Regions from separate parts of the Homo sapiens genome. Here all the other regions are linked to region 3. Evidence: promoter capture Hi-C in 16 types of primary human blood cells and fetal thymus (Javierre and others, 2016). All regions are on one chromosome and are shown on one strand. Each heading gives the region's core, a stretch centred on a gene start or on the middle of the fragment in contact. The rest is flanking DNA. Distances are from core to core; before and after follow the strand shown.

What was found. Contacts are between HindIII fragments. The CHiCAGO score rates a contact against its expected background, and 5 or more counts as called.
Region 1: a contact is called between a fragment that was not itself captured here and the fragment with the promoter of NEURL1 in region 3, in 1 of 17 cell types (M1 macrophages). The highest score is 5.5, in M1 macrophages.
Region 2: a contact is called between a fragment that was not itself captured here and the fragment with the promoter of NEURL1 in region 3, in 3 of 17 cell types (M0 macrophages, M2 macrophages and M1 macrophages). The highest score is 5.8, in M0 macrophages.
Region 4: a contact is called between a fragment that was not itself captured here and the fragment with the promoter of NEURL1 in region 3, in 15 of 17 cell types (M1 macrophages, M0 macrophages, megakaryocytes and 12 more). The highest score is 12.9, in M1 macrophages.
Region 5: a contact is called between the fragment with the promoter of TAF5 here and the fragment with the promoter of NEURL1 in region 3, in 2 of 17 cell types (M0 macrophages and M1 macrophages). The highest score is 5.4, in M0 macrophages.

What each region holds. Positions count from the first base shown.
Region 1 is chr10:103,381,098-103,387,052 of GRCh38, forward strand. TAF5 (TATA-box binding protein associated factor 5) reads left to right here. Exons shown (of 11, transcript NM_006951.5): 6 at 624-744; 7 at 2,141-2,270; 8 at 4,229-4,393. Among named protein-coding and RNA genes, the nearest start is that of MIR1307, 10 kb to the right of the region's middle. The HindIII fragment of the contact is 1,603 bases long and covers 2,911-4,513 here.
Region 2 is chr10:103,401,151-103,406,342 of GRCh38, forward strand. PDCD11 (programmed cell death 11) reads left to right here. Exons shown (of 36, transcript NM_014976.2): 4 at 1,968-2,135; 5 at 3,872-4,033; 6 at 4,835-4,958. Among named protein-coding and RNA genes, the nearest start is that of PDCD11, 7.1 kb to the left of the region's middle. The HindIII fragment of the contact is 8,494 bases long and covers 1-5,192 here.
Region 3 is chr10:103,489,516-103,495,414 of GRCh38, forward strand. NEURL1 (neuralized E3 ubiquitin protein ligase 1) reads left to right here and starts at 4,190. Exons shown (of 6, transcript NM_004210.5): 1 at 4,190-4,957. The coding sequence starts at 4,873. NEURL1-AS1 (NEURL1 antisense RNA 1) reads right to left here. Exons shown (of 4, transcript NR_120675.1): 3 at 5,046-5,220. RefSeq lists silencers at 1,100-1,169, 4,399-4,548, 4,559-4,688, 4,769-4,868 and an enhancer at 4,535-5,084. The HindIII fragment of the contact is 3,415 bases long and covers 1,865-5,279 here.
Region 4 is chr10:103,416,799-103,422,572 of GRCh38, forward strand. It overlaps PDCD11 (programmed cell death 11), which reads left to right. Exons shown (of 36, transcript NM_014976.2): 14 at 994-1,134; 15 at 1,642-1,836; 16 at 2,740-2,910; 17 at 4,550-4,769. Among named protein-coding and RNA genes, the nearest start is that of PDCD11, 23 kb to the left of the region's middle. The HindIII fragment of the contact is 7,810 bases long and covers 1-5,774 here.
Region 5 is chr10:103,364,183-103,370,205 of GRCh38, forward strand. It overlaps TAF5 (TATA-box binding protein associated factor 5), which reads left to right and starts at 3,794. Exons shown (of 11, transcript NM_006951.5): 1 at 3,794-4,366. The coding sequence starts at 3,808. RefSeq lists enhancers at 3,610-3,904, 3,657-3,896, 5,027-5,096 and a silencer at 4,027-4,566. The HindIII fragment of the contact is 22,064 bases long and covers 1-6,023 here.

The sequences.
Region 1 (5,955 bases), core at 2,462-4,961, 110 kb before region 3:
GCCACCACGCCCAGCTAATTTTTGTATTTTCAGTAGAGAAGGGGTTTCACCAGGTTGACCAGGCTGGACTTGAATTCCTGAGCTCAGGCAATCCACCCGCCTCAGCCTCCTAAAGTGCTGTGATAACAGGCATGAACCCCCGCGCCCGGCCAAACTTAGTATTTTATTTTATTATTATTTTTTTTTTGAGATGGAGTCTCACTCTGTCGCCCAGGCTGGAGTGCAGTGGCACGATTTTGGCTCACTGCAACCTCTGCCTCCTGGGTTCAAGTGATTCTCTTGCGTCAGCCTCACAAGTAGATGGGATTACAGGTGCCCACCACCCTGCTTGGCTAATTTTGGTATTTTTAGTAGAGATGGGGTTTCACCATGTTGGCCAGGCTGGTCTTGAACTCCTAACCTCAGGTGATCCACCTGTCTCAGCCTCCCAAATTGTTGGGATTACAGGCATGAGCCAGTGCGCTTGGCCAATATTTTAAATCAAGAATTTTAAAAGTCTTTATATATTCCTTAAAATAGAGGATTGAGGAGATATTTAGTATAGTGTGAAAATGATTAACATTTGCTTCCTATCTCTAAATATCCTAAAATAGTATTGTTTAGTCTAACCCTTTTATTGGCAGGGTCTCACTGCAGTGGATGTCACTGATGATTCTAGTCTGATTGCTGGAGGTTTTGCAGATTCAACTGTCAGAGTGTGGTCGGTAACACCCAAAAAGCTTCGTAGTGTCAAACAAGCATCAGGTAACTGAGATGACCTTTTGGAATGTGAACTTGCCATTAGTCTATACCAATCTTGATTCCATGGAAAATACACAGGAGATTGTGTTCTTTACAGAAATTCACTTGATTTTACTTTAACTCAAGATTCTAACATTCCCAACAGTGAAAAAAGCTTTGGAGTGACTGGGGTGCTAGACTGGTTTAATTTCTTTAGGTCTCAGTTTTCTCATCTGTAGAATGAGTGAGTATTAAGCTAAAAAACTTAAAGTTAAAAATCTAACATTTTATGATTGCTTGTAAATCTTAAAAAATCTTTAAATAAGGGATGGTACTTCCTGTTTTAGTCATAAAAATGGCTAAAAAGAACAAATAAGGTCAGGATTTTATTTGAAAGTTTTTTACTTTTTGTTTTTTTGAGACAGAGTCTCGCCCTGTCACCCAGGCTAGAGTGCAATGGCGCAGTCTTGGCTCACTACAGCCTCTACCTCCCAGGTTCAAGGGATTTTCTTGTGTCAGCTCCCCAGCTCCCCAGTAGCTGGGATTACAGGTGCCCACCACCATGCCCAGGTAATTTTTGTATTTTTAGTAGAGATAGGGTTTCGCCATGTTGGCCAGGCTGGTCTCGAACTCCTGACCTCAAGTGATCCGCCTGTCTGGCCTCCCAAAGTGCTGGAATTATAGGTGGCTCACTGCAACCTCCACCTCCCTGGTTCAAGCGATTTTCCTGCCTCCACACCCGGCCTGAAATAAAGTTTTTTACTAACTATATTATTTAAATAAAACAATATATTTTAAATTATTTCAATATTTCCATAGGTTTTTTTTTTTTAATTTTAAATTTTTTTTAGATGGGGTCTCACTCTGTTGCCCAGGCTAGAATGCAGTGGTGTGATCACGGCTCACTGCAGCCTCTAATCCCTGGGCTGAAGTGATCCTCCCACTTCAGCCTCCTGAGTAGCTGAGACTACAGGTGTGTGCAACCACACTGGCTAATTTTTTATTTTTTGTAGAGACAGGGTTTCTCCATGTTGTCCAGGCTGGTCTCGAACTCCTCTGGGCTCAAGCAATCTGCCCGCCTTGGCCTACCAAAATTCTGAGACTACAGGTGTGAGCCACCATGCCTGGCCCATAGTTTTCATTTTGTGAAACACTGTGGCATAGTGGGCAAAACTGAGTTTCAGTTCTGGTTCCCACACTGAGTAGCTGTGTGCACTCTAGCAAATTATCTGTTCTGAACGTCATTTTCTTCTCTTACACGCTGAGATGATACTGCCTAATTTAGAGGGATTAGCAAAGTGCGGTTGGTATATAGGAGGAAATTTTCAAATGTTAATTCCTCTCCTGCACTGTGATATGATTACTTTAAAAGTTTTGATGAATGTACTTATAAAATATCAATATTTCTGGACCATTTTAGATCTTAGTCTTATAGACAAAGAATCAGATGATGTCTTAGAAAGAATCATGGATGAGAAAACAGCAAGTGAGTTGAAGATTTTGTATGGTCACAGTGGGCCTGTCTACGGAGCCAGCTTCAGTCCGGATAGGTAAAATACAAACAATAAAAATTAAATACTGCTATGTTATATTGAAATTATATAAAAGTTAACTACTGGAAACATTATGCAAATGCTGGGAAAATTCTGATAAAAATCTCATGGTTGTCTGACGTTCATCATCTTTTAGAATCTTGCCATTTGCTAATTCATCTTTGAATCCTGGTGTTTGTACATGGTAGCAATTTAATGTATACTCACTTTTTTTTTTTTTTTTTTGAGACAGAGTTTCGCTCTTGTTGCCCAGGTTGGAGTGCAATGGCGTGATCTTGGCTTACCGCAACCTCCGCCTCCTGGGTTCAAGCGATTCTCCTGGCTCAGCCTCCTGAGTAGCTGGGATTACAGGCATGCGCCACCACACCTGGCTAATTTTATTTTTTTATTAGAGATGGGGTTTCTCCATGTTGGTCAGGCTGGTCTTGAACTCTCAACCTCAGGTGATCTGCCCACCTCAGCCTCCCAAAGTGCTGGGATTACAGGCGTGAGCCACTGTGCCTGGCCTGTATACTCAAATTTATAGAATCAAAATGCACAGTTTCAGGGCTTACTGGTTTTAAAAATTAGCTTTAGTATTTCCCTTTTTTTTTTTTAATTATTTTTATTTGTTACCCAATGGTAAATAACCAACCAAAGCTTTAGTTTTATAGAACTCCATTAGGGGTTGAATTGCTTCATTGGGTCCCTGCATTGTGTCTTCTGGCTGCTTCATCAAATTTAAGACAAATTCCTGACATTAATGGCATATTAGCTAGTAATTGAGGATTAATCTTTCTATAATCAAAAGTACTAAGAGTAAATGAAAAAGGAAATTCAAAATTGGTTTGCTTCCCTTTAGGTGTATGATTACAATGTCATCCTATGTGTATAGGTATTTGCCTATTTTTCATGATCTCTAACACTGTAAAAATGGGTGGAGGGTGTTTTGTATTCATAATACCATCAGTATATTACTTGGATAGATAATAGCTTTCAGGCCGGGCACAGTGGCTCACGCCTATAATCCCAGCACTTTGGGAGTCCAAGACAGGCGCATCACCTGAGATCAGGAGTTTGAGACCAGCCTGGCCAACATGGGAAATCCTGTCTCCACTAAAAAGTACAAAAATTAGCAGGGTGTGGTGGCGCCCACCTGTAATCCTGGCTACTTGGGAGGCCGAGGCAGGAAAGTCACTTGAACATGGGAGGCAGAGGTTGCAATGAGCCGAGATTGCACCACTGCACTCCAGCCTGGGTGATAAGAGCAAAACTCCATCTCAAAAAAAGAAGAAAAGAAAAAAAGATAATAGCTTTCCATCCATCAAGGTTTCATCATTACGAAACTTTGAGAATTAGGTTTTTTGTTGCTTGATAAGGTTTTGCCAGATGATACATTTTTGAGGGAAACGTCTGATTTCAGTGAAAATTGTAATAACCTTCTGACTATCAATCTTTTGTGTTTATGCTTGAAAAAGGTAGAGAATTATTAGCATGTCTGTAGTTTTTTTTTCTTTTTCTTCAAAAGACATTTCCTTTTTAATTCTTACATAGCTTACACAGCATGGGAAAATAGCATCTTTATTTTAGGGTCAAAAATTGTTGAGTTTTAAGTGACATATCACATTTCTTAAACTTTCTCAATTGACCTTATTTGACTATACTTTGTTAATTACCCCTGCTATTTTTTTCTTGTAAAGAACTCTGATTTTCCCTAAGTTTTTGTATCATATTACCTCATTCAGTAGGTGCTCGGTATATGTAGAGTGTCAGGGTTAACATTAGTTTGGTTAGTTCTTTCAATTGATACCTACTGTGAATTGCGTGTATGAATTAAAAGTGAGATGCAGCATGTTAGGTATATTTAATATAGTCAAATATATATAAAATATTAAATGTATTCAAATGTATATAAAACTGGGCAGGTGACCAAAGGTTACTCTGGGAGTCAAATATATCACCTTCTCTTCTCTCAGGAACTATCTGCTTTCCTCTTCAGAGGACGGAACTGTTAGATTGTGGAGCCTTCAAACATTTACTTGTTTGGTGGGATATAAAGGACACAACTATCCAGTATGGGACACACAATTTTCTCCATATGGATATTATTTTGTGTCAGGGGGCCATGACCGAGTAGCTCGGTAAGAACACTGTGATCTTATGACTGGGTCTATTCAATGAACAGAATGGTTTCTTGTTGGGAATTACACAGCCAGCCAAATTCATTTACACTTCCATTATTGAGGTTCAACTTTCTGAGAAGCTTTTGCATTTATAACTTATTTGAAATTGGGGCCGGGCGCAGTGGCTTATGCCTGTAATCCCAGCACTTTGGGAGGCCGAGGTGGATGGATCACCTGAGGTCAAGAGTTTGAGACCAGCCTGGCCAACATGGTGGAACCCCGTCTCTACTAAAAATACAAAAATTAGCCGGGCGTGGTGGTAGGCACCTGTAATCCCAGCTATTCAGGAGGCTGAGGCAGGAGAATCATTTGAACCTGAGAGGCGGAGGTTGCAGTGAGCCGAGATCGCACCATTGCACTCCAGCCTAGGGGACAAGAGCGAGACTTCATCTCAAAAAAAAAAAAAAAAAAAAAAAAAAGAAAAGAAATTGGGGCAGGAGTATTATTATATCTGCAATTACATCTATATGAATCCTGGTTTTTAAAAAATAGTTAATTAACAATCCTCCCTCCCAACCCCATCAGATACTTAACCTTGTCTTCCATACCACTGTGAGCACCTTTATGTTTCTCTGTCATCTGCTTAGAAGTTGAGGATAAGGTAGTTCAGGTTAGAAACTATTTGGCCAGGTGCAGTGGCTCACGCCTGTAATCCCAGCACTTTGGGAGGCCAAGGAGGGCAGATAACTTGAGGCCAGAAGTTCCAGACCAGCCTGGCCAACATGACGAAACCCCGTCTCTACTGAAAAAAAAAACAAAAATTAGCCGGGTGTGGTGGCACGTGCCTGTAGTCCCAGCTACTCAGGAGGCTGAGGCAGAATTGCTTGAACCCAGGAGGCAGAGGTTGCAGTGAGCCGAGATTGCACCACGGCATTCTAGCCTGGATGACAGAGTGAGACTGTCTCAAAACAAAACAACTATTTGGTGGCCAGAACTAGGGGAAAATACTTTTCTGTGGTTTAGACTAGGAATAGAGGAGGAAGAATATACAGAGAATTGGAGTTCTAGAACTTAAGTTTTGGCTGGCTACAGTGGTACACGCCTATAGTCCCAGCTACTGGGGAGGCTGAGGTGGGAGGATTGCTGGAACCGAGTTTGAATCCAGCTTGGGCAACAGAGCAAGACCTCAGCATTTTTTTTTTTTTTTTTGAGACAGAGTCTCGCTCTGTTACCCAGGCTGGAGTGCAGTGTCGCCATCTCGGCTCACTGCAACCTCTACCTCCTGGGTTCAAGCAATTCTCCTGCCTCAGCTTCCTGAGTAGCTGGGATTACAGGCGTGCGCCACCATGCCCAGCTAATTTTTTGTATTTTTAGTAAAGACGGTGTTTCACCATGTTGGTCAGGCTGGTCTCGAACTCCTGACCTCGTGATCTGCATGCCTCGGCCTCCCAAAGTGCTAGAAGTGTAAGCGTGAGCCCCCATGCCTGGCAAGACCTCAGCTTAAAAAAAAAAAAAAATTGTACCAGATGAACTCTTAGGACTGTGAGTCTCATTTTTCTTCCCCTCAGTTAACTAGTAAG
Region 2 (5,192 bases), core at 552-3,051, 91 kb before region 3:
TAGCAGTCATTCTCATCTTACCCATTCATTTCATAGATGTGAAACCCATTTCCAAGAATTGAAGTGGTCTGTGTTCCTTACATTTTTATTTTTTATTTTTTAATTTTGAAATTATTTTATTTTATTTATTTATTTATTTTGAGACGGAATCTCTCTCTGTTGCGCAGTCTGGAGTGCAGTGATGTGATCTCAGCTCACTGCAACCTCTGCCTCCCGGGTTCAAGCGATTCTCCTGCCTCAGCCTCCTGAGTAGCTGGGATTACAGGTGTCTCACCACGCCTGGCTAATTTTTGTATTTTTAATAGAGACGGGGTTTCACCATGTTGGTCAGGCTGGTCTGGAACTCCTGACCTCGTGATCTGCCTGCCTTGGCCTCCCAAAGTGCTGGAATCACAGGCGTGAGCCACCGCGGCCAGCCTGCCTTACATTTTTAGATGATAACACCAATATGTGTTAGTTATAAAAAAGAAAAGAAGTTAAATAACTTTGAAGAGGAACATTCATATTTGGCTAGATTCAGAGTCAATATTTTGTCCTATATGATACTTTAAAAAAATTGTTAGACTTGGTGCCAACATTAGAAAACTAAAATTTTTTTTTTTTTTGAGACGGAGTCTCGCACAGTCGCCCAGGCTGGAGTGCCGTGGTGCCATCTCTGCTCTGCTCACTGCAAGCTCCGCCTCCCGGGTTCTCGCCATTCTCCTGCCTCAGCCTCCTGAGTAGCTGGGACTACAGGCGCCCGCCACCACGCCCAGCTAAGTTTTTGTATTTTTGGTAGAGACGGGGCTTTACCATGTTAGCCAGGATGGTCTCAATATCCTGACCTTGTAATCTGCCCGCCTCCGCCTCCCAAAGTGCTGGGATTACAGGCGTGAGCCACTGCACCTGGCTGAAAACTAAAAATTTTTTTACATGAAAATATGATTTCTGGCTTCTTGTAAAAATTTGAAAGTACTGATAGCAGAAGGCCCGTATTCCCTCATGTTTGTAATGACAAGGAGCTGAGTAGTGGTTGTGTCCTTTAGACCTGGCATGGTCACTCCAGACTGCCATTGTCTCCACTAGCTGGCTTCCTTCATTGTGTTGTCTGCCAGGCATTTGAGTTTGGGTTGCTCAGAATAATGTAAAAGGCAAAGGTGTCCTCCAGTATCCCAGTGCTGTTAACACTGTTGTATAATCTAGACCTTTTACAGTGCTCGGTCAGATATTTGAGAAGTTCACTGATATGTACACATGTGTATTTCTTTTCATTTATAAAATTCCTGTAGGTTTTTATTTTTTATTTATTTTTATTTTTTTATTTTCGAGACAGAGTTTCACTCTTGTTGCCCAGGCTGGAGTGCAGTGGCATGATCTCAGTTCATTGCAACCTCCACCTCCCAGGTTCAGGTGATTCTCCTGCCTCAGCCTCCTGAGTAGCTGGAATTACAGGCACCTGCCACCATGCCCGGCTAATTTTTGTATTTTTAGTAGAGACGGGGTTTTGCCGTGTTGGCCAGGCTGCTCTCGAACTCCTGACCTCAGGTGATCCACCCGCCTCAGCCTCCCAAAGTGCTGGGACTACAGGCATGAGCCACTGTACCCGGCCTATTTTTTATCTTTATTTTTTGAGATAGGGTGTCACTTTGTTGCCAAGGCTGGAGTGCAGTGGTGTGATCACAGCTCACTGCAGACTCAACCTCCTGGCTCAAGCGATCCACTCACCTCCGAGTACCTGCGACTACAGGCGTGTACCACTATGCCTGGCTAATCTTTTTTTTTGGAGAAACTACGTTGCCCAGGCTGGTCTGAAACTCCTGAGCCCAGGCAGTCCTCCTGCCTTGGCCACCCAAAGTATTGGAATTATAGGGCGTAAGCCACTGTGCTTGGCCTTATAGCTTTTAAATTGACACTAGAAGCCAGACCTTCCAACCTTCCCTATTGTTGTTCCCATCCTTATTGTACACATTTCACTTTTTCTCTTCTAGTCCCTGTGTGAGGGAATGCGTATTTTGGGTTGCGTGAAAGAGGTGAATGAACTGGAACTGGTGATTAGTCTCCCCAATGGCCTCCAGGGCTTTGTGCAAGTCACTGAAATCTGTGATGCCTACACCAAAAAGCTGAATGAGCAGGTGACACAAGAACAACCTCTGAAGGTAAGGGAAATCCGAATGAAGCCTGTTATTGAAAATAAGTGGAACACAAATAGATTTAAAATTACAACTTTGCCAGGTGCTAAGAAGGGAAAGTACAAGGTCCCGTGAGAGTTTATCATAAAGGAATTTTTGACTAAGTCTGGGAGCCTGGAAGACTGTTGAGGAAGGGATGCTTAAGCTGAGATCTAAAGAATGAGGGTTCCCTAGATAAAGAAGGAAAGGCGTTCAGGCAGAAGCAATGTAATATATAACAGAGAGAAGGCTAGTATGGCTAGGTAAGGAGAGCAAGAGAGAGTGTGATGTGAGATGGGCAGGAGAGCCTGAATGGGGGCCAGGGCACATGCAGCCTTGTAGACCATTTTAAGGGTTGTTTTTAAATTCTAGAATCAATGGGAAGTCCTTGAAATGTTCTCACTGGGGTACAGCATAACGTGTAGATTGAAGAGGCATGAGAAGTTGCTTAGAGACAAGTTAGGAGGCTCTTGTAGTCGTTCACGTCCTGAGATTGATGGTGACCTGGGTTCAGGATTTCCTGAGGACTGAGGAGGCAAAGTCATTGCTTGGTGATAGATTCAATATGGGTGGTGGGGCAGATAGAGGTGTCAGGGCTGAGTTCTAGGTTTCTGTTTTGCATGATTTGATGCTTGGTCATGACATCCTGAGATAGGAAACCCTGAAGGGGACCTGGATTGGGAGAGATGATCATGATTTTTCAGTTTTTGAGACAGAGTCTCACTCTGTTGCCCAGGCTGGAGTGCAGTGGCATGATCTCAGCTCACTGAAACCTCCATCTCCTGGGTTCAAGTGATTCTCCTGCCTCAGCCTCCCCAGTAGCTGGGATTACAGGTGCCAGCCACCACACCCAGCTAATTTTTGTATTTTCGGTAGAGACAGGGCTTCACCATGTTGGCCAGGCTGGTCTCTAACTCCTGACCTCAAATGATCCACCCGCCTCGGCCTCCCAGAGTGTTGGGATTATAGGTGTGAGCCATCATGCCTGACCTATGATTTTTGTTTGTTTGTTTGTTTTTGAGATGGAGTCTCACTCTTTAGCCCAGGCTGGAGTGCAGTGACATGATCTCAGCTCACTGCAACCTCCAGCTCCCAGATTCAAGCAATTCTCCTGCCTCAGCCTCCTGAGTAGCTGGGATTACAGGCAGATGTCACCACACCCAGCTAATTTTTGTATTTTTAGTAGAGACAGGGTTTTACCATGTTGGCCAGGCTGGTCTCAAACTCCTGACGTCAGGTGATCTGCCCGCCTTGGCCTCCCTAAGTGCTGGGATTACAGGCATGAGCCACCACACCCGACCCTCAAGTGCTTTTTAATGGTCATGTAAGAGATAGACTGCAAAACTGACCACTGGATTTAACAATATGGAACTCATTGGTGATTCTATGGGAGATAGAGTGGTGGAGTGAGAGGGGTGGAAAGCAGATTGCAGTGAGCCGAAGAATGAGTAAGGGATGAAGTAGAGGCAGAAAGTGTAGACAACTCTTTTGACAAGTCATTTTACATGCCAGTTATGTGGAAATATTTGAAGGCCTTATGCTGAAATTCAAGACTGTGGCTAGGCCACAGACCCAACTTCCTTTGTGGATGGGGGGTTATTCCTCACCCACCTTTTGGGTTCTCTGGGGTCTGAGGATGAGAAGTCACTGAGCCAAAGCTGGGTAATGGATTTTTGGTTCAGGAGAAGGGTGTATATCAGGTCTTTCTCATTTGTGTTATGCAGGACCTACTTCACTTGCCTGAACTTTTCTCACCTGGAATGCTGGTAAGATGTGTGGTGAGCAGTCTGGGCATCACAGACAGGGGCAAGAAGAGTGTCAAGCTGTCTCTGAACCCCAAAAATGTCAACAGAGTGCTGAGTGCTGAGGCCCTGAAGCCTGGCATGGTAGGTGTCTAGGGTCGGGGAGGAAGAGTGGCAATGTGCCTTCTCTCTGCCTCTGAGGGAGCGTGGTCTAGGCCACCTTTTACTTTCAGCTCAATTGTGACACATAGGAGTGGTTCTTTTTCTGGAAGGAAGGTCTCTTGGGTTCTTTGGGCACTTAATGGACATTGAAGACTTGAACCTAATCATTACATTGGAGAAGAGAAAAGAGAAAGCAAGTCCAAATTTCTTTTTTTTTTTTGAGTCGGAGTTTCGCTGTTGTTGCCCAGGCTAGAAAGCAGTGGCATGATCTCGGCTCACCACAGCCTCCACCTCCTGGGTTTAAGCAATTCTTCTGCCTCAACCTCCTGAGGCAGGGATTACAGGTGCCATGCCCAGCTAATTTTTGTATTTTTAATAGAGACGGGATTTCACCATGTTGGCCAGGCTGGTCTCAAACTCTTGACCTCAAGTGATCTGCCTGCCTCAGCCTTCCAAAATGCTGGGATTACAGGCATGAGCCACTGTGCCCTGCCGAAAGTTTGCTATCTTTTGAAACCACTTGAGGCAAGAGACTCTTCTATATTGTTCCATCATTCAGCTGTGTTAAACATTCCTCATTGCCTGGCAACCATCAGCTCCTTCAAGCCTGGGAGTGTTGAATTTGATGTCTGCTGTCTAGTGGGATTGTGGCTTAAGGTTTAATGTGGGAGTGGGATAGTGGCAGAGTGTGAGCTTAGTGGCAGGAACATTCAAGTTTGGATGTTTTGTGTGTGTCCCATTACCTTTGAATTGGAACTTCTGGGACTACTTTCTCTTCCCCAGCTACTTACAGGTACCGTATCCAGCCTGGAAGACCATGGCTACCTAGTGGACATTGGTGTTGATGGGACCAGAGCTTTTCTGCCACTGCTGAAAGCCCAGGAGTACATCAGACAGAAGAACAAAGGTGAGGGCAAGAAAAGGGGCCAGTACATGGTGGTGAGGTGGTACATGTGGGGATTATATTTAAGTGCCATTTTGATGAGTAACATGACAGAATGGTGACCCTGAAGGTGCTGTGGCTTTGGTAAAACCAGCACTTAATCCTAGTTAATAGGAAAGGAAAGATGTATGAAGGGCCAGCGAGTGGTAAGGTCTCACTAAGATCTGATGGAACAGTGTCAGTTTTTCTAACCTGGAA
Region 3 (5,899 bases), core at 2,940-5,439:
ATGGGAGGGTGCTACCTGTGGTAGCCAGGGATAGTTGTGGCTGTTTCCCATTTTAAGGTTAATTTCTCTGCCTGGAGGGAGGTGTCATGCCATTGACTAGGGTGGTCTCAATTCAGGGGAGTCCAGCTTGGCCTAGAGGCGCCCCACTTTTGTCTGCCTGAGGAAAGGTCATCACTCTGGTTGGTTCTGAACTCAGTATCCAGAGGCTCAGGGAAGGGAGTAGACTCTCAGTTAAATATGCTATTATTTTATCAACGCGGTAACTCTTCAAGACTTGAATGGATCTGGAAGCTATGGAGAGAGAGAAAGAGGAAGGGAGGTAGAGAGAGGCGAACCAGGCAGGAGCGGACAGCCAGGGTGGGAAGAACAGAGGTTGCAAGGAGAGAAAGTGACCAGGGTGGGAAGAAGCAGAGAAGGAAGGGCAGGGGGAAAGACGAGAGGGGGTGGGAAGGGGGTAGAGAGTGAAAGAAACCAGCAAGGGCCAGGTGCGGTGGCTCACTCCTGTAATCCCAGCACTTTGGGAGGCTGAGGCGGGCGGATCACTTGAGGTCAGGAGTTAGGGACCAACCTGGCCAACACGGTGAAACCCCATCTCAATTAAAAATACAAAAATTGGCTGGGCACGGTGGCTCATGCCTGTAATCCCAGCACTTTGGGAGGCCGAGGCGGGTGGATCACGAGGTAAGGAGATTGAGACCATCCTGGCTAACACGGTGAAACCCCATCTCCACCAAATATGCAAAAAATTAGCCGGGCGTAGTGGCAGGCACCTGTATTCCCAGCTACTCAGGAGGCTGAGGCAGGAGAATGGCGTGAACCCAGGGGGCGGAGTTTGCAGTGAGCTGAGATCGCGCCACTGCACTCCAGCCTGGGTGACACAGCGAGACTCCGTCTCAAAAAAAAAAAAAAAAAAAGAAGGAAAAAAAATTAGCTGGACATGATGGTGTGTGCCTGTAGTCCCAGCTACTCGGGAAGCTGAGGTTGGAGAATTGCTTGAACCTGGAAGGTGGAGGTTGCAAGATTGCAGTGAGCTGAGATCGTGCCACTGTGCTCCCACTGGGCAAGACTCTGTATAAAAAAAAAAAAAAGAGAAATCAGCAAGAAGAGAGCAACAGGGAAGGAAGGGAAGGTGGGAGTGGAGCTGCTGTTGAAGGAAGCTTCCTCAGGTCCCTGCCTGGGGCCTCCCTCTCCTGCATGCCTGTGTGTGCACTCACAACACCTACGCATGCACATACAAGGACACAGGTGTTCGCGAAAGTGCACACGTGTGCACTGACACCCACCCCCTCAGGCACTGCCCGCAGAATCTGCACTGCTGGGTGTGTGGGTGTTGCCACGGTGACTGGTGCTGGAGCATCACCTTGTGGGTATTAATAGCTTCCCCTGAAGCCATCAAAACAGTGACTTCATCAGCCCCAGTCTCCCTGGCAGTTTCCTTCTTCCTCTTCCCTTCCAGGATGGGTCTGGGAAGGGTCTTCTGGATCAGAGCCACCACCCAGGCACCCCACCCCTATGAGCTGCCTTGGGGAAGGATGGCAGGAAGGCCTCTGAGTTCTGCCCAAGGTCTGGGGGTAAGGAGACTGCTGGCCTTCTTTAACCCTCTGAGCTGGGTCTACCCTAAGTCCCTGCCAGGGAGGAGTTGCTGGGGCACAGGACTCCTCAGAAGGGCCACGCTCAACTTCTCTGAGTCCTATGCAGCCACACCAACCTCCTCTAGGTCCCTTCCTGGCCAGAGACCTAGTTGACTCTAACAGTGGTGTCCCCTCTTCCAGTACAGAGCTCCCTGAAGTACTAGGGTGAAGGTAGAGAGGGGCCTAGGGCGTGAAATATAAGAGGACCTAATTCCCAGGCTCGCGCAAGTGCAAGCTTGGTATCTGCATGAACTTGAGAGTTGGCGCCTTCTTCAATTTTGCGCCAGGGATGCCTTGGCTACCTCATCCTATCCCAGCCCTATTGATACTCCCATCAGCTCCTCAACCCTCAGTTCCCTGCCTTTGTCCCTGACGCCTCTCACCTTCCTTTGGGACTCCCTGGGATCACGCTGCCCTGAACTGCAGAACCTGGGCTGCCTCTGGACTCAGGTGAGCATCCGCCTCTGGCCTTCACTTCCCTCCTTCCCTTTGACGTCTTCCTCTCTCCCCTGCTTTGCCCATAGCCCCAGGTCTAGGCCATGTGGGGCCTGTGACATCCCTTTGTCAGGCGCGGTGGCTCATGCCTGTAATCCCAGTACTTTGGGAGTCCGAGGCAGGTGGATCACCTGAGGTCAGCAGTTCAAGACATCCCTGCTGTGCTCTACCTTTGGGGCCTCATCCCCTCCCCCATTCCCCTGCCCACACCAGGCTTCCCTGGAGCCACCGTCTGTAAATCCTAGCTAGGCCCTTGTACTTCAAACACACTCTAGCAGGATGAGTCTCAACTATGCAGAGTCCTCATATTTGTTCTAACTTGTGAAAGGCCTGATTCTAGTGGCCACTCACAGTGACTTCATTCCGGCAGATTTCAGGGGGAATATAAGTGTGTGTGCTTGTATAGGTGTGAGTGTGTGAGATAGTGTAGCGGTGTGTTAGCACATGTGTGAGTGTGTTGCCATTAAGAGCCTGTGGATTTCTGATGCATGAGTCATTAGCTGGGAGTGAGCCTTGGGAAGATACTGCCCATAAATAAGACAGCCATCCCTGACCTGCTGTGGCCATCTGCAGCTGCCTGCACACGTGATCCTGGGCATCTGGGAGGCTGGAGGCCGGGTTCGGGGCTGCCTTTCCCTCCAGATTCCAGAGAGACAGTGGCTGTCACAGATATTTCTAGCTTGCCTGGAGTCCCAGACATTTAAGGGTAGAATGCCTGGAATGGGGATGGAGAGAGGAGAGTAGGAGAGGAAAATAAAGGGTGGTTCAGGAGGCTCTGCCCCCAGGGATCTCAGTGGAGCCTCCTGGCCCACAGTGGGAAGCATGCATTCCACAATTATTTTCTGAGAATCTGTCACATGCCAGGCATTCCCCCAGTGGGTAAGGACACCCTGGTGAACACGACTGACCTGTGCTCTCCCCTCACAGAGCTTATGTTCTAGCAGGGAGGCAGAAGATAAACGAGGAAAGGCTACTTGTAAACAAGTTCCATATAAAAGCTATGATGAAAATAAAATGGAATATTGTGGAAAGTGACTGACAGTGGAGGGGGTCCTTTAGTTGGGGCAGTCAGGGAATGTCAGGACACGAATTGTGCCTAGATAATGAGGAGCTGCCAAATGGAGACTTGGGGGAAGAACCTTTATTACAGAAAAGGATACATGAGATGTCCCCCTGCCCACCCATGTCTTCACTGGACTCTGGATCTGAGTTGCTGAAGCCAGAGCAGGGAGCTAGAGATGACTTAGAGGAGCAGGAAGTCTGATTCCCTGGGGGGAACCTTGGAACATCTTCCATCCCTGATAGACCAGGAGAGATGCCCCGGGTCCAGGAAGGAGAAGAATGACTTCTGTTTCCCTTCCTGAAGGCTTCTTGGTGCAGTGTTGAGCTACAGGAAGGCACTAGCCACATGAGCAGGGCCCTTGCTGAAACCCCCTTCCTCCAGGAAGCCTTCTTTGACTGCCATAGGCTGCAGAGGCTCCTCTCCCCCACCTTGTTATAGCTAACAGAACCACTCAGTTCAGAGCTGGTGGTCTTCTGATGATCTGTCCCGGAGATCTGTTCCCTCAGCTTGGCCAGAGCTCCAGGCTTGTGAGTCTGGTCCGCGGGCATTCAAAGGCCCTCAGTGGCATCTGTGCATCAGTGAGACTGCCCGGGGTTCCTGCTCTGAACCCTTGCCCTAGTGCCCCTAGCCTGGCTGAGAACGGAGGGTCAAGTGCCGGGGTTCTAATCTCAATTACTTTATCCAAGCATCCGCTCGCTCATTTACATGTTTCCCTGGGCTCTCCACTCTGCGCCAGGCCCGGTACCTGGAGCTAGGGAAACCGAACATTAGTGCTGGCTCGCCCGCCCCCGCATCCGGGGAGCTCGGCGTTCTCGCGGCCCTGCTCCCCTTGTTTTCAAGTGCAAGTTCCATGTTTCCGTGCTGGGAATAAGGCCAGCCCCGGGTGCCACCATACTCGCCTGATGTCTTACCCCGACCCGCGCCGCCGAGAGCTTGCGGCTACGGGAACGCGGCGCGCCCCGGGGCCACATCTGGCCTAGCGGGCGCGCGCGTGTCACTAAGACGCTCATTCACCGGCGCAGCTGTCACCATAACAACCGGAGCGAGGGAATCCTGGAGACTGCCGGGGCGGGGGGCGGGGGCGGCGGTCGCAGGAGGGACCCGGCGCGGGCGGGACCGCGGCGGTCGGGGGACACCAGCTGCGTCGGAGCGCCCAGAACGCCCCGCGCTCCGCCGAGCCCCGCTCCACGCAGACCCGCGGGCGGGAGGGAGCCACGCACATCGCCGCCGCGGCCGTCTCCGCGGGGCGGTAACCGAGCCTGCCTCGGAGCCGCCGAACGCCCACGCCAGCGACCCTGACTCTATGGCCCCGGGGGAGCGCGCCGGAGCCGCCGCGCCGCCCACCCCCAGCCGGAACCCTAGCGTCCCGGGGAGCAAGCGGGGAGCCCCGGGCGTCCCCGGCCCCGGCCCAGGGCCCTGCTTGTGGCCCCCGCTCCCGCCACGGGGCATGGGAGGCAGGTAGCCCAGCCTGCGCCAGGACACCCGTGGCGGGCGGAACCCGCCAAGGACCGCGAAGTCCAGAGAAAGGAAGCTGAGGAGCTGCCCGCCCGCCCCCGGCTGCAGCCCCAGCAGGGCCCTCCCCCGGTGGCGCGCACCCGCGCGCGCACACTCGCACACCGCACCTCAGCGCCTGCCCGGCCTCGCCCCCACCCGCGAGCGCCGAACCTCCTGGGGCCGGATGCCATGGGTAACAACTTCTCCAGTATCCCCTCGCTGCCCCGAGGAAACCCGAGCCGCGCGCCGCGGGGCCACCCCCAGAACCTCAAAGGTAGGCTCCCCGGCCGAGCGCTGCTGGAGGACTGGGGCGCAGGTGGAGGGCCAGGGAGGTGTGGTTGGGGAGGGCGGGCAGACGCCACCTGTTGTGCGTGTCTGGAGGCCGGAGATGCACCTCTGGCCGTGGAGTGGGCTGGGGGTGGAGGGCAGCCGGCGATGATGGTGATGGAGGATGGCGTCCCGCGGGGTCTGCGCAGTTCTGTCTGCTGGCACTGGGAACGTCACTGGAGTCCCCTCAGGCCATGGTCTTAGGCGAGCCTGAAGAGATGGGAAAGGATGTTTGCCAGGTCGATAGGGGAGTGGGGAGTGAGGAGGGAAGCTTGGGTCGTCCGTGTCTCCAGGGAGGCACCTCGATGGGTCTCCTTTCCATCGGCCCTAGGGCTGGAGAGACCAGGCTGGGAGCACTAGTTGCATTTCCAATGGGAGGGTTTTAAAAATTCAGGACAGGATTACAGCAGCCTGGAAGAAAGGGTCAGAGCTGCTGGTTCCTGGGGTCCTTTGCAGCCGTTGGGTTTTTGCATCCATTGAATTAGTTTGATTTCTGGTTTTCCCAAAGACCAGATATCCAGTCAGAGCCCTAGAAAAGAGGGTCTGGGAGCCTTGAAACAGAGGGACATTTACTAGGAATGTCTTTGCTCTTCACCTCCCCAGATCCACTCAGCACCCTCAGGGTGGCCCTAGGCCCAGTCTCCCCATTCGGAGCCTGCCATTCCTGTCTTGGATCTTCCAATGCTGTCTCTGACCTTTGGAAGACACTGCTGGGTCCTCCCGGGCCCTCAGACCCTACTAAATTCCTTCCGGAAGGTGCTTTTCTGTCACCTCAGAACCAGTGGCACTTGTCCTGGGCATGATGGCTAAAAGCCAGGAAGGGAAGCCCTTGGGCTTTCAGAAAGAATACCCCACTTCCTAAGCTCCTCAGGTTATGAGAAGGATAACA
Region 4 (5,774 bases), core at 1,709-4,208, 74 kb before region 3:
ATGAAGGAGCAGTAAGTAGTGGGGCTGCCTTTAGGAGGCTGAGGAAGAGAGCACATGGGGCAGTGGGTGTGAGCCGGCTAAATGGAGGAGACGGGGAACAGAACAGAGAGAAAGCCTCAGCGGGGTTCAGCAGAAGCTGGCAAGCTGATGGATCTCAGGCACGCATGGAAGAGGTCAGTCTTTACTTGTAATAAACCTGTGCCTCTCATATCGGAAATTGTTTTGAGGTCACTGTCACCACATGGGGGCAGTGCTGTAAAACTAGTAAGTCTTGGTATCACTAGGAAAAGCATTTTTTTATTCCTTTAAACGACTTTAAACAGATAGATAATAATTGTACATATTTATGGGGTACAATATGATATTTCTTTTTTCTTTTCCTTTTTTTTTTTGAGACAGAGTTTCCTCTGTCACCCAGGCTGGAGTGCAATGGCGTGATCTCAGCTCACTGCAACCTCCACCTCCCAGGCTCAAGTGATTCTCGTGCTTCAGCCACCCAAGTAGCTGGGACTACAGGCATGTGCCGGCATACCCGGCTAATTTTTGTATTTTTAGTAGAGATGGGATTTTGCCATGTTGGCCAGGCTGGTCTCGAACTCCCTGGCTTCAAGTGATCAGCCTGCCTTGGCCTTTCAAAGTGCTGGAATTACAGGCCTGAGCCACTAAGCCTGGCCACCATGTGATATTTCAATACATGCTTACAATGTGTAACGATCAAACCAGGGTAATTAGCATCTCCATCACCTCAAAAAGAAAAATAATTTTTAAGACTTGGATTGTACAAAAAAAGTTACTTATGTCTTCCATTTATCCCAAAGGCTGCCCTGGGGGATTGTGTAGCTCTCAGTGCATTTCTTCTTTTCACTGCCTCCTGATCTGATCCAAAGGCTCGGTAGATCTCCCAAGTCCTCTGCAGCAGTAGTGGAGGGCACGTTGCAGGGCCTGCAAGGCTTGCTGGGAGGAGTTGGCCAAGCCTGTGTGGTTTCTTGCCAGGTGGTGAAGGTTGTCGTATTGAACTGTGAGCCATCCAAAGAGAGGATGCTCTTATCCTTCAAGCTGTCGAGTGATCCAGAGCCAAAGAAAGAGCCTGCAGGACACAGTCAGAAGAAAGGAAAAGCCATTAACATTGGGCAGGTACGTGGACTTCTCTGGACAAGCTATTTTATGTTACAGTGGCAGAGAGCAGGGAACCACTAACACATGGCATATTGGAACCCACGAAGCGGAAAGATAGAGGTAGCTAGATAAGATTTTGGGGCTAGAGGGGTTCATACGCATTCCTTCCTGTGTGTCAGAACAAATGGAAGCTGTCCCTGAAAGTCCTGTTACAGTGAGGCTTTTCAGCAGTGGGCTGCTGACCTCTTTCCTCTCGGGTCCCTAGGGCCAGCCTGCAGTTCTGGCTTTCCTGGGGCTCCGTGGAGGGACTTGAGAGAGGAGTGCGATGGGTCCACCCATGAGTCCTGGTGAATGTGCACGTACATGCATGCTGGGTGGTTGGGGTGGTGGGTGGGGTTTGGAAGAAAGCTGCCTCTTAGAGATCCTTGGTGCCGGAGTTTAATGCCTCCAAGCCCTGCCTAATCCAGACCAGGTTGTTCTCTGTTCATGACAAGTGCTATTTTTGTCTTTCTCTTCCCTGGGTAGTTGGTAGATGTGAAGGTTTTAGAGAAGACCAAAGATGGGCTGGAGGTGGCTGTCCTGCCCCACAACATCCGTGCTTTCCTCCCCACATCTCATCTGTCGGACCACGTTGCCAACGGCCCATTGTTACATCATTGGCTCCAGGCAGGTGACATCCTTCACCGAGTCCTGTGTCTGAGCCAGAGCGAGGGGCGTGTTGTATCCTTGACTGGTATCTGTGGAGCAGAGGAAGGTGGGGGGCCATGGGTGCTTGGATGGGAAATTCTGGGGAAATTAGACAGCTATTTGACCTCAGAAATATCTCCACAAAACCAAACCAGTGATGAAGCCTGTGCTATGGAAAGTAAGAGCAGGCCTGAGTAAGTGCTGCCAGCAGATGCTGGTGGTCAGGGCGGAGTAGCCTGAAAGGTTGCAGAGAGGGGGACTCTCGGAGGCTGGAGAAGGAGGCCCAGTGGGGTGCTTGGGAGCACATCTAGTTTTCTTGGGGCTTTCAGTGCCTGCCCCTTGGGTTAGAACCAATAATAAGGTGGCTTCTGTCCCCCTTTCCTCTTTTTTTTTTTCCCCTATGCCTTCTCCCCGCGGGGCTATAGGCTCAGGAATATTCCCTTTGGTCTTTGCATGGGTGCTTTGAAGGAGCTTCTCACAGAATGTAAAGTTCATTCTCCTGGGAGTAAAAATGGGCAGAGGAGGGAAAATGAGTTCATCAGTGTAAAGAGGGAGTAGTAGAGGATTGTGTGATGGCTGATCCAGCTGCCAGACCAGGGGGATGAGCCATCCCTTTTTGGTGTCCTCTAGTAATCTGCAGATTAGTGAATCGGGAATGGAATAAAACCGTGATTCTCAGCTGTAGTGTGCAGTTGGGCCATGCAGATGGCTGGGCCACACCAAAGTTTCTAATTCAGTAGGTCTAGGTGGTGCTTGAGAACTTGCATTTCTCCTAAGTTTCAGGCGATGTTGATGCTGCTGGTCTGCACACTTAGAGAATCGCTGTAGCAGCAGAGATCAGCCTGCAGTTCTGTCCTTCTCTGTGGAGAAAGGAGATGGGAGAGATGGACATTTCATCTGCCCTTTCTGGAACATTCCTTGATGAAGTACCACTAGCTTCTTTGCAGGAAGCCAGCCTTGGTCTCCACAGTAGAAGGTGGCCAGGATCCCAAGAACTTCTCAGAAATCCATCCTGGAATGCTGCTCATTGGTTTTGTGAAGAGCATCAAGGACTATGGCGTGTTCATCCAGTTCCCCTCAGGTCTTAGCGGACTGGCCCCAAAAGCTGTAAGTTCAACTCCATGTACAAGGGCTTTGAGGAGAGATACAAGGTCACAGAACCTGAGGGCGGGTAGGGAGGAGTAGGATACTTTATTCCTTTTTTTTTTGAGACAGTCTTGTTCTGTCGCCCAGGCTGGCTTGCAGTGGTGTGATCTCTGCTCGCTGTAACCTCCGCCTCCTGGGCTCAAGCGATTTTCCTGCTTCTGCCTTCCAAGTAGCTGGGATTACAGGTGCCCACCAACATGCCAGGCTTTTTTTTTTTTTTTTTTTTGAGTAGTAGAGACAGAGTTTTACCATGTTGGCCAGGCTGGTCTTGAACTCCTGACCTTAAGTGATCCACCTGCCTCGGCCTCCCAAAGTGCTGCGATTACAGGTGTGAGCCACCGCACCTGGCCAAGGATACTTTACTCTTTTGAAAGATTTTCAGGGGTACCTCTTAAGGTGTGTGTGACATAAAGGCACCTGGGAGGGGTGAGTGCAGCTGAGCTTTTGGCCCATGTTCCTCTCGCCCAGCTGTGTGACCATCTGGAGGAAGGGACACCTTTCCCACTCCACACTACACATTGAAGGCCTTAGTCTCCAGTGTGAAGATGACTGCACTTGTTTTTATTCTCTCAGCACACTTAGACAGGGAAATTGATCATCCTGAGCTACTGAGTACAGGTTTTGCAGACTTCTGAGGTTTTTGAGGTGTTAAGGGACCAGAATGTCTTTGAAATTATTACCTCCCCCACCCCCATGTCATTGAGTCCTGCACTTTCAGATGGGAACAATCCCAGCAGTCCCCTAGCAGAGCCTCCTGGTGTGCCTGGCACGTCAGCCGAGGCCTATTGAGGGGATGGGACTCACCAAAGTCATGGAAGACAGCGAGCAAATGGCGTGCAGCTGATTGCTGCTGCAGATCATTCATCAGTATTTCTTCCCCTCTGTAGGCCTGTCTCCCTGGTGTTTTGCCTGGGAAAATCTCATTTGCATCCCCTGCCAGAAACATTTTAAAAATGGGAGCAGAGGGGAGGGCCCCAGAAACAAGCCCAGTGAGGGGCAGAGGGTTCCCGTGGGTTGTTAGGGGTGAGGACAGCCCTGGTGTCTGCCTGGCTTGCTGTGAATGTGCCTTCTTGACTGGGTGCCCTCTCCTGGAGGCTCTGTTTTTTTTGTTGTTGTTGTTTGTTTTTGTTTTTGTTTTTTTTTTTTGAGATGGAGTCTCACTCTGTCGCCCAGGCTGGAGTGCAGTGGCGCAATCTCGGCTTACAGCAACCTCTGCCTCCCGGATTCAAGTGATTCTCCTGCCCCAGCCTCCCGAGTAGCTGGAATTGCAGGTGCATGCCACCACTCCTGGCTAATTTTTGTATTTTTAGTAGAGTCAGGGTTTCACCATGTTGGTCAGGCTGGTCTGGAACTCCTGACCCCATGATCTGCCCGCCTCGGCCTCCCGAAGTGCTGGGATTACAGGCGTGAGCCACTGCTCCCAGCCAATCCGGAGGCTCTGTTTTTATGGAAGGGAAGTAGAGCTGTGTTCAGAGAGGGCTTGGGGGAGCTTCCTAGGCCCCATTTCCCCCTACTCACGTACCCCTTTCCAGGAACATCAAGTGGGTTGTCTTAATGAAGACCTTTCCTCTTCTCATCTCCTGCCTGTTCTTCTGTTCAGATCATGAGTGACAAATTTGTGACCTCCACAAGTGACCACTTTGTTGAGGGCCAGACAGTAGCGGCAAAGGTGACCAATGTGGATGAGGAGAAGCAGCGGATGCTGCTGTCACTGCGGCTGTCGGACTGTGGTCTGGGGGACTTGGCTATCACCAGCCTCCTCCTCCTGAATCAGTGCCTGGAGGAGCTGCAGGGCGTGCGCAGCCTTATGAGCAACCGAGGTGGGGCACCTGTGGGGCAGGGGAGGTGGGCCAGGGGTGGGAGTATGTGTTGTAAATTACACCTGTTGTTAGGTGAGTTGTTGGGCTTCCCAGAACATAAGAAAAAAAAATTTGGGGCCGGGCGCGGTGGCTCACGCCTGTAATCCCAGCACTTTGGGAGGCCGAGGCGGGTGGATCATGAGGTCAGGAGATCGAGACCATCCTGGCTAACAAGGTGAAACCCCGTCTCTACTAAAAATACAAAAAAAAATTAGCCGGGCGCGGTGGCGGGCGCCTGTAGTCCCAGCTACTCGGGAGGCTGAGGCAGGAGAATGGCGTGAACCCGGGAAGCGGAGCTTGCAGTGAGCCGAGATTGCGTCACTGCAGCCCGCAGTCCGGCCTGGGTGACAGAGTGAGACTCCGTCTCAAAAAAAAAAAAAAAAAAAGAAAAAAAAAATTGGGTTAACTTTTTTTTTAATGGAAGTATGACCTGCATAAAGTGCACAATTTTATTATTATTATTATTATTATTATTATTATTATTATTATTATTGAGACCAAGTTGCACTCTGTCGCCTGGGATGGAGTGTGGTGGTGCGATCTTGGCCACTGCAACTTCCACCCCCCAGGTTCAAGCGATTCTCCTTCCTCAGCCTCCGGAGTAGCTAGGATTACAGGCATCTGCCACCATGTCTGGCTAATTTTTGTATTTTTAGAGAAGACAGGGTTTCGCCATGTTGGCCAGGCTGGTCTCGAACTCCTGACCTCAAGTGATCCACCCGCCCTGGCCTCCCAAAGTGCTGGGATTACAGGCGTGAGCCACTGCGCCCGGCCAAAGTGCACAGTTATTATGTGTGCAGCTCAATAAATGTTTATATTACACCCCTTTAAGATAAAGGTCATTACGAGCATCCTAGATGTCCTCTTCTCCCCACTGCCAGTCCAGAGTCAAAATTTCCCTTAGTTCTGTGGCTTTATATTTGCATTTGCTGTGAATTCACTCGCCTTTTCACCTTTCATTCCTTT
Region 5 (6,023 bases), core at 2,544-5,043, 130 kb before region 3:
AACTAGTGTGTGAAAGTGTGAGGGGTTATGCCGGGCGCAGTGGCTCACGCCTGTAATCCCAGCACTTTTGGAGGCCGAGGCAGGTGGATCACGAGGTCAGGAGTTTGAGACCAGCCTGGCTAGCATGGTGAAACCCTGTCTCTACTAAAAATACAAAAATTAGCTAGGTATGATGGTGCACGACTGTAGTCCCAGCTACTTGGGAAGCTGAGGCAGGAGAATTGCTTGAACCTGGGAGGCGGAGGTTGCAGTGAGCCGAGATCACACCACTGCACTCCAGCCTGGGCGACAGAGCAAGACTCCGTCTCAAAAAAAAAAAAAAGAAAAAGAAAGTGTGAGGGGTTATAGAATTATTACTATTATTATTTTTTAAACACAGGGTTAACCAGGTGCGGTGGCTCATTCCTGTAATCCCAGGAGTTTGGGAGGCTGAGGCGGGAAGATCACTTAAGGTCAGGAGGTTGAGACCAGCCTGGCCAACATGACAAAACCGCATCTCTACTAAAAATATAAAAATTAGTTGGGCATGGTAGTGCACACCTGTAATCCCAGCTACTCGGGAGGCTGAGGCATGAGAATCACTTGAACCTGGGAGGTGGAATTTGCAGTGAGCTGAGATTGAAAAAAAATTAATTCAGGCCGGGCGCGGTGGCTCACGCCAGTAATCCCAGCACTTTGGGAGGCCGAGGCGGGCGGATCACGAGGTCAGGAGATCGAGACCATCCTGGCTAACACGGTGAAACCCTATCTCTACTGAAAATACAAAAAATTAGCCAGGCATGGTGGTGGGCGCCTGTAGTCTCAGCTACTCGGGAGGCTGAGGCAGGAGAATGGCCTAAATCCAGGAGGTGGAGCTTGCAGTGAGCTGAGATCCGGCCACTGCACTCCAGCCTGGGCGACAGAGTGAGACTCCGTCTCAAAAAAAAAGAAAAAAAAAAAAAGAAAAAAAATTAATTCAGTTAAGATCAATTTAATGGGTCACACTCAGTATTTTATTTTATTTATTTATTTATTTATTTTTTTGAGCTGGAGTCTCGCTCTGTGGCCCAGGCTGGAGTGCAATGGCACAATCTCGGCTCACTGCAACCTTCATCTCAGCTCCTAAAGTGCTGGGATTACAGGCATGAGCCGCCACCCCTATCCCTAGATTAGCTTTGCATTTCAGTCTCGGGATCACTTTTGAACATTATGCTTGCACTTTCTTAATCAAACATTTACAGAACACCTTTTAAAGTGAAGTAGAAATAACCAATGGTTATTTATTACATACTAGGTATTGCATATGCATTACCTCATTTAATTCTCAAAACACTATGACGTAACTACTATTATTTTTTTGTTAGAAATTGGGCAACTGGGGCCAGGCGTGGTGGCTCACGCCTGTAATCCCAGCACTGTGGGAGGCCGAGGCAGGTGGACCACCTAAGTTCGGGAGATCGAGACCAGCCTAACCAACATGGAGAAACCCTGTCTCTACTAAAAATACAAAATTAGCTGGGCCTGATGTGGCACATGCCTGTAATCCCAGCTACTCGGGAGGCTGAGGCAGAATAATTGCTTAAACCTGAGTGGTGGAGGTTGCAGTGAGCCGACATGGCGCCATTGCACTCCAGCCTGGGCAACAAGAGTGAAACTCCGTTTCAAAAAAAAAAAAAAAAAATTAGGCAACTGGGACATAGTAAATTAAGTAACTTGCTCCAGGTTATTCAGCCAGTAAGCAAGGTCAAGCCAGGTGGTCTGTGCCTGTAGTCTCAGCTACTTGGGAGGCTGAGGTGAGAGACTGCTTGAGCCCAGGAGTTCAAGGCCAGCCTAGGCAATATAGTAAGGCTTCAGATCTCTAATTAATAAAATAAAATATTTTTTAAAAGTAAGCAGGGTCAAAGGACGCTGGTAAGACCTCAAAACCAATAACTTGAACGGCTGTGCTAGATTTTCCCAATGTCTCAGGCTCACTTTTCTCGTCTGTACCTATTCCACAGAGTTACAAGTTTCCAATGAGATAAAATATGCAGGAGGGTTTTATAACCTATGAAGCACATTGCAAAATGGCATATATGATTTTTTTTTTTTTTTTTTTTTTTCCTGAGACGGAGTTTTGTTCTTGCTGCCCAGGCTGAAGTGCAATGGTGCGATCTCGGCTCACTGCAACCTCCGCCTCCTGGGTTCAGGTGATTCCTCTGTTTCAGCCTCCCGAGTAGCTGGGATTACAGGTGCCCGCCACCACACCTGGCTAAATTTTTATATTTTTAGTAGAGATGGCGTTTCATCATGTTAGCTAGGCTGGTCTCGAACTCCTGACCTCGGGTGATCCACCCGCCTCGGCCTCCCAAAGTGCTGGGACTACAGGTATGTGCCACTGCGTGTGGCCATGATTTTTAAATATACAATTAAAATGGTTTATTTGTAATAACGGATAATAGCATGAATACATAACGTACATATTTCACAACCACAACATTCTGGTATTTAAAAACTTTTTTTTTGAGACGGAGTCTCGTACTGTCGCGCAGGCTGGAGTGCAGTGGCGGGATCTCGGCTCACTGCAACCTCCGTCTCCCGGGTTCAAGCTCTTCTTCTGTCTCAGCCTCCCGAGTAGCTGGGATTACAGGGGCGCACCACCATGCCTGGCTAATTTTTTGTATTTTTAGTAGAGGCGGGGTTTTGCCGTGTTGGTCAGGCTGGTCTCTAATTCCTGATCTCATGATCCGCCCGCCTCGGCCTCCCAAAGTGCTGGGGTTACAGGCGTGAGCCACCGCACCTGGCGTTAAAAACTTTTTATTGAAATGTAATGTATACGGGCCAGGCGCAGTGGTTCACGCCTGTAATCCCAGCACTTTGGGAGGCTGAGGCCGGTGGATCACCTGAGGTCAGGAGTTGGAGACCAGCCTCGCCAACATGGCGAAACCCTGTCTCTACTGAAAATACAAAAATTAGCCGGGCGTGGTGGCACACGTCTGTAATCCCAGCTACTCGGGAGGCTCAGGCAGGAGAATCGCTTGAACCCAGGAGGCAGAGATTGCAGTGAGCTGAGATCGGGCCACTGCACTCCAGCCTGGGCGACAGAGCGACACTCCGTCTCAAAAGTTAAATAAATAAATAAATGTAATGTAATGCATGCAGCTCGATTAACTTTTACAAAAGTAAAAATGACAAAAAAAAAAAAAAAGTAAGCACTATTCAGGTCAAAATGTAAAACTACCAGTATCTCGGAAGCCTCCCTCTGGCAAATGGTATATGTTTTTGAGTTAAATACGTGGATTCGAATGTTGACATTTGGACTTTCTTCTTGCCTCTGGTAAGTTATTTAACCTCTCTTGGTTTCAACTGAGCCATCTGCGAGGTGGGGATAATATTACCTCATAAGATTATTTAATTGTAGCAGGGCGTGGTGGCGCATGCCTGTAATCCTAGCTACTGGGGAGGCTGAGGCAGGAGAATCGCTTAACAGCCTGGGCGACAAGAGCGAAACTCCGTCTCAAAAAAAAAAAAAAGAAAAAAGAAAAAGATTATTGAATTGAAGGAGATCACATAATGTAAAACATCTATCATAATGCCTAAATATAGCTGGCCTGCAATAAATGGCAATTATTCTCAGGCAAATGTAATAGGTGGTCACCAATGCCCACTTCCTGCCTTTCTTTCGCTCGGTTTTGAAAGTTGCTCTCTTTCCTATTCCGTTTCTCCTTCCTTTTCGCTCCTCCTACTGCCGTAAATGGCCTACTAGAGTTGTCGTGAAATGCTCCTCCCCGCCCTCCATGTGGCGAAAATGCAATCACGCTTGACGGCGCGAGGTGGCTCAGCCGCAAGATGGCGGCGCTGGCGGAGGAGCAGACGGAGGTGGCGGTCAAGCTAGAGCCTGAGGGACCGCCAACGCTGCTACCTCCGCAGGCGGGGGACGGCGCAGGCGAGGGTAGCGGCGGCACTACCAACAACGGCCCCAACGGCGGCGGCGGGAACGTTGCGGCGTCGTCGTCCACTGGCGGGGATGGCGGGACCCCCAAGCCCACGGTGGCTGTCTCCGCCGCTGCCCCGGCGGGGGCGGCCCCGGTGCCCGCCGCTGCTCCGGACGCCGGCGCTCCGCATGACCGACAGACTCTACTGGCCGTGCTGCAGTTCCTACGGCAGAGCAAACTCCGCGAGGCCGAAGAGGCGCTGCGCCGTGAGGCCGGGCTGCTGGAGGAGGCAGTGGCGGGCTCCGGAGCCCCGGGAGAGGTGGACAGCGCCGGCGCTGAGGTGACCAGCGCGCTTCTCAGCCGGGTGACCGCCTCGGCCCCTGGCCCTGCGGCCCCCGACCCTCCGGGCACTGGCGCTTCGGGGGCCACGGTCGTCTCAGGTTCAGCCTCAGGTCCTGCGGCTCCGGGTAAAGGTGAGCCGTGGGGTCCCGGGTAGGTACGGCCGCCGCGAAGGGGAGCAAGCCGGTAAGGCAGGGGCTGGCAGGCCTGCACCTCTGCGGGCTTGTTTTGAATTTCCTGGGCCCGCCTCTAGGGCCACATGCCCGCCCCTTTCTCTAGTGCGCGGGCTGCGCAGTCAAACCCCCTTCCGAGCTGTCAGTTCCAGTGAGAAGCTGAGGAGAGCTGTTGAGCAGAGGGATGTATGGGGAAGGTGAGCGCGGAGAGGCGGGATCTTCACGCTCTTGGTCCCTTTCCTTTCATTTGGGCTTTTGAGCCTTGGGCAGGTCCGCATGACACTAACAGTGTTTGTACAGTTTCGTACTAGCGTACTTTAAGTACTGTAAGTACTTTATTTTCTCTTTATTTCTTTAGTTCCTCTTAAAAGATGTGTTGATAAATACTTTATAGATTTTTTTTTTTTTTGAGACGGAAACTTGCTCTGTTGCCCAGGTTGGAGTGCAGTGGCGCAATCTTGGCTCACTGCAACCTCCGCCTCCCGGGTTCAAGCAATTCTCCTGCCTCAGCCTCCCGCGTAGGTGGGACTACAGGCTCCTACTGCCACGGCCGGCTAATTTTTGTATTTTTAGTAGAGGCGGGCTTTCACCATGTTGGTCAGGCTGGTCTCGAAATCCTGACCTCAGATGATCCACCTGCCTCGGCCTCCTACAGTGCTGGGATTACAGGCGTGAGACACCGCGCCCGGCCGCCATACAATATACCCTTGTAACAGTCCTGCACATCATGTACCCCCTGAATCTCAGCTAAAAGTTGAATTTTTTTTCTTTTTCTTTTTTTCTTTTTTTGAGACGGAGTCTTGCTCTGTCGCCCAGGCTGGAGTACAGTGGCGTGATCTTAGCTCACTGCAACCTCTGCCTCCCAGATTTAAGCGATTCTCCTGCCTCAGCCTCCCGAATAGGTGGGACTACTGGCACGCGCCACCACGCCCGGCTAATTTTTAAAAATATATTTTTAGTAGAGATGGGGTTTCGCCATATTGGTCAGGCTGGTCTTGAATTCCTGACCTCGTGATGCACCCACCTCTGCGTCCCAAAGTGCTGGGATTACAGGCATGAGCCACCGCACCCGGCTGAAATTTTAAAAATATATATGGGCTGAGTACCACCAGTGTTAAGTCTTTGGAGGATGCAGGTTCCTGGGCATCACTTCAGACTTAGTGAATCAGGTCCTCTAGAGGTGGAATCTGGGAATCTTCACTTTTGAATAAGTGCTTCTAAGGAGTATTGACATATGGCAGCTTGAGAGCCATGTGTTTAGGCATGGGCATTGGACAGACCTTTTTGTCTTTGCTGCATTTACTTGTGTGATGCTGATTGTCATTATTTTTTTAGTTTTTAATTTTTTTTACCTTCGTATTGGCCGGGCGTCGTGGCTCATGCCTGTGAATCTCAGCACTTTGGGAGGCTGAGGCGGGTGGATCACCTGAGGTCAGGAGTTTGAGACCAGGCTGGCCGACATGGCGAAACCCCCTTTCTACTAGAAATACAAAAATTAGCCGGGCGTGGTGGCGCATGCCTGTAATCCCAGCTACTTGGGGGGCTGAGGCAGGAGAATCACTTGACCCCGGGAGGCTGAGGTTGCAGTGAGCCAAGATTGCGCCACTGCACTCCAACC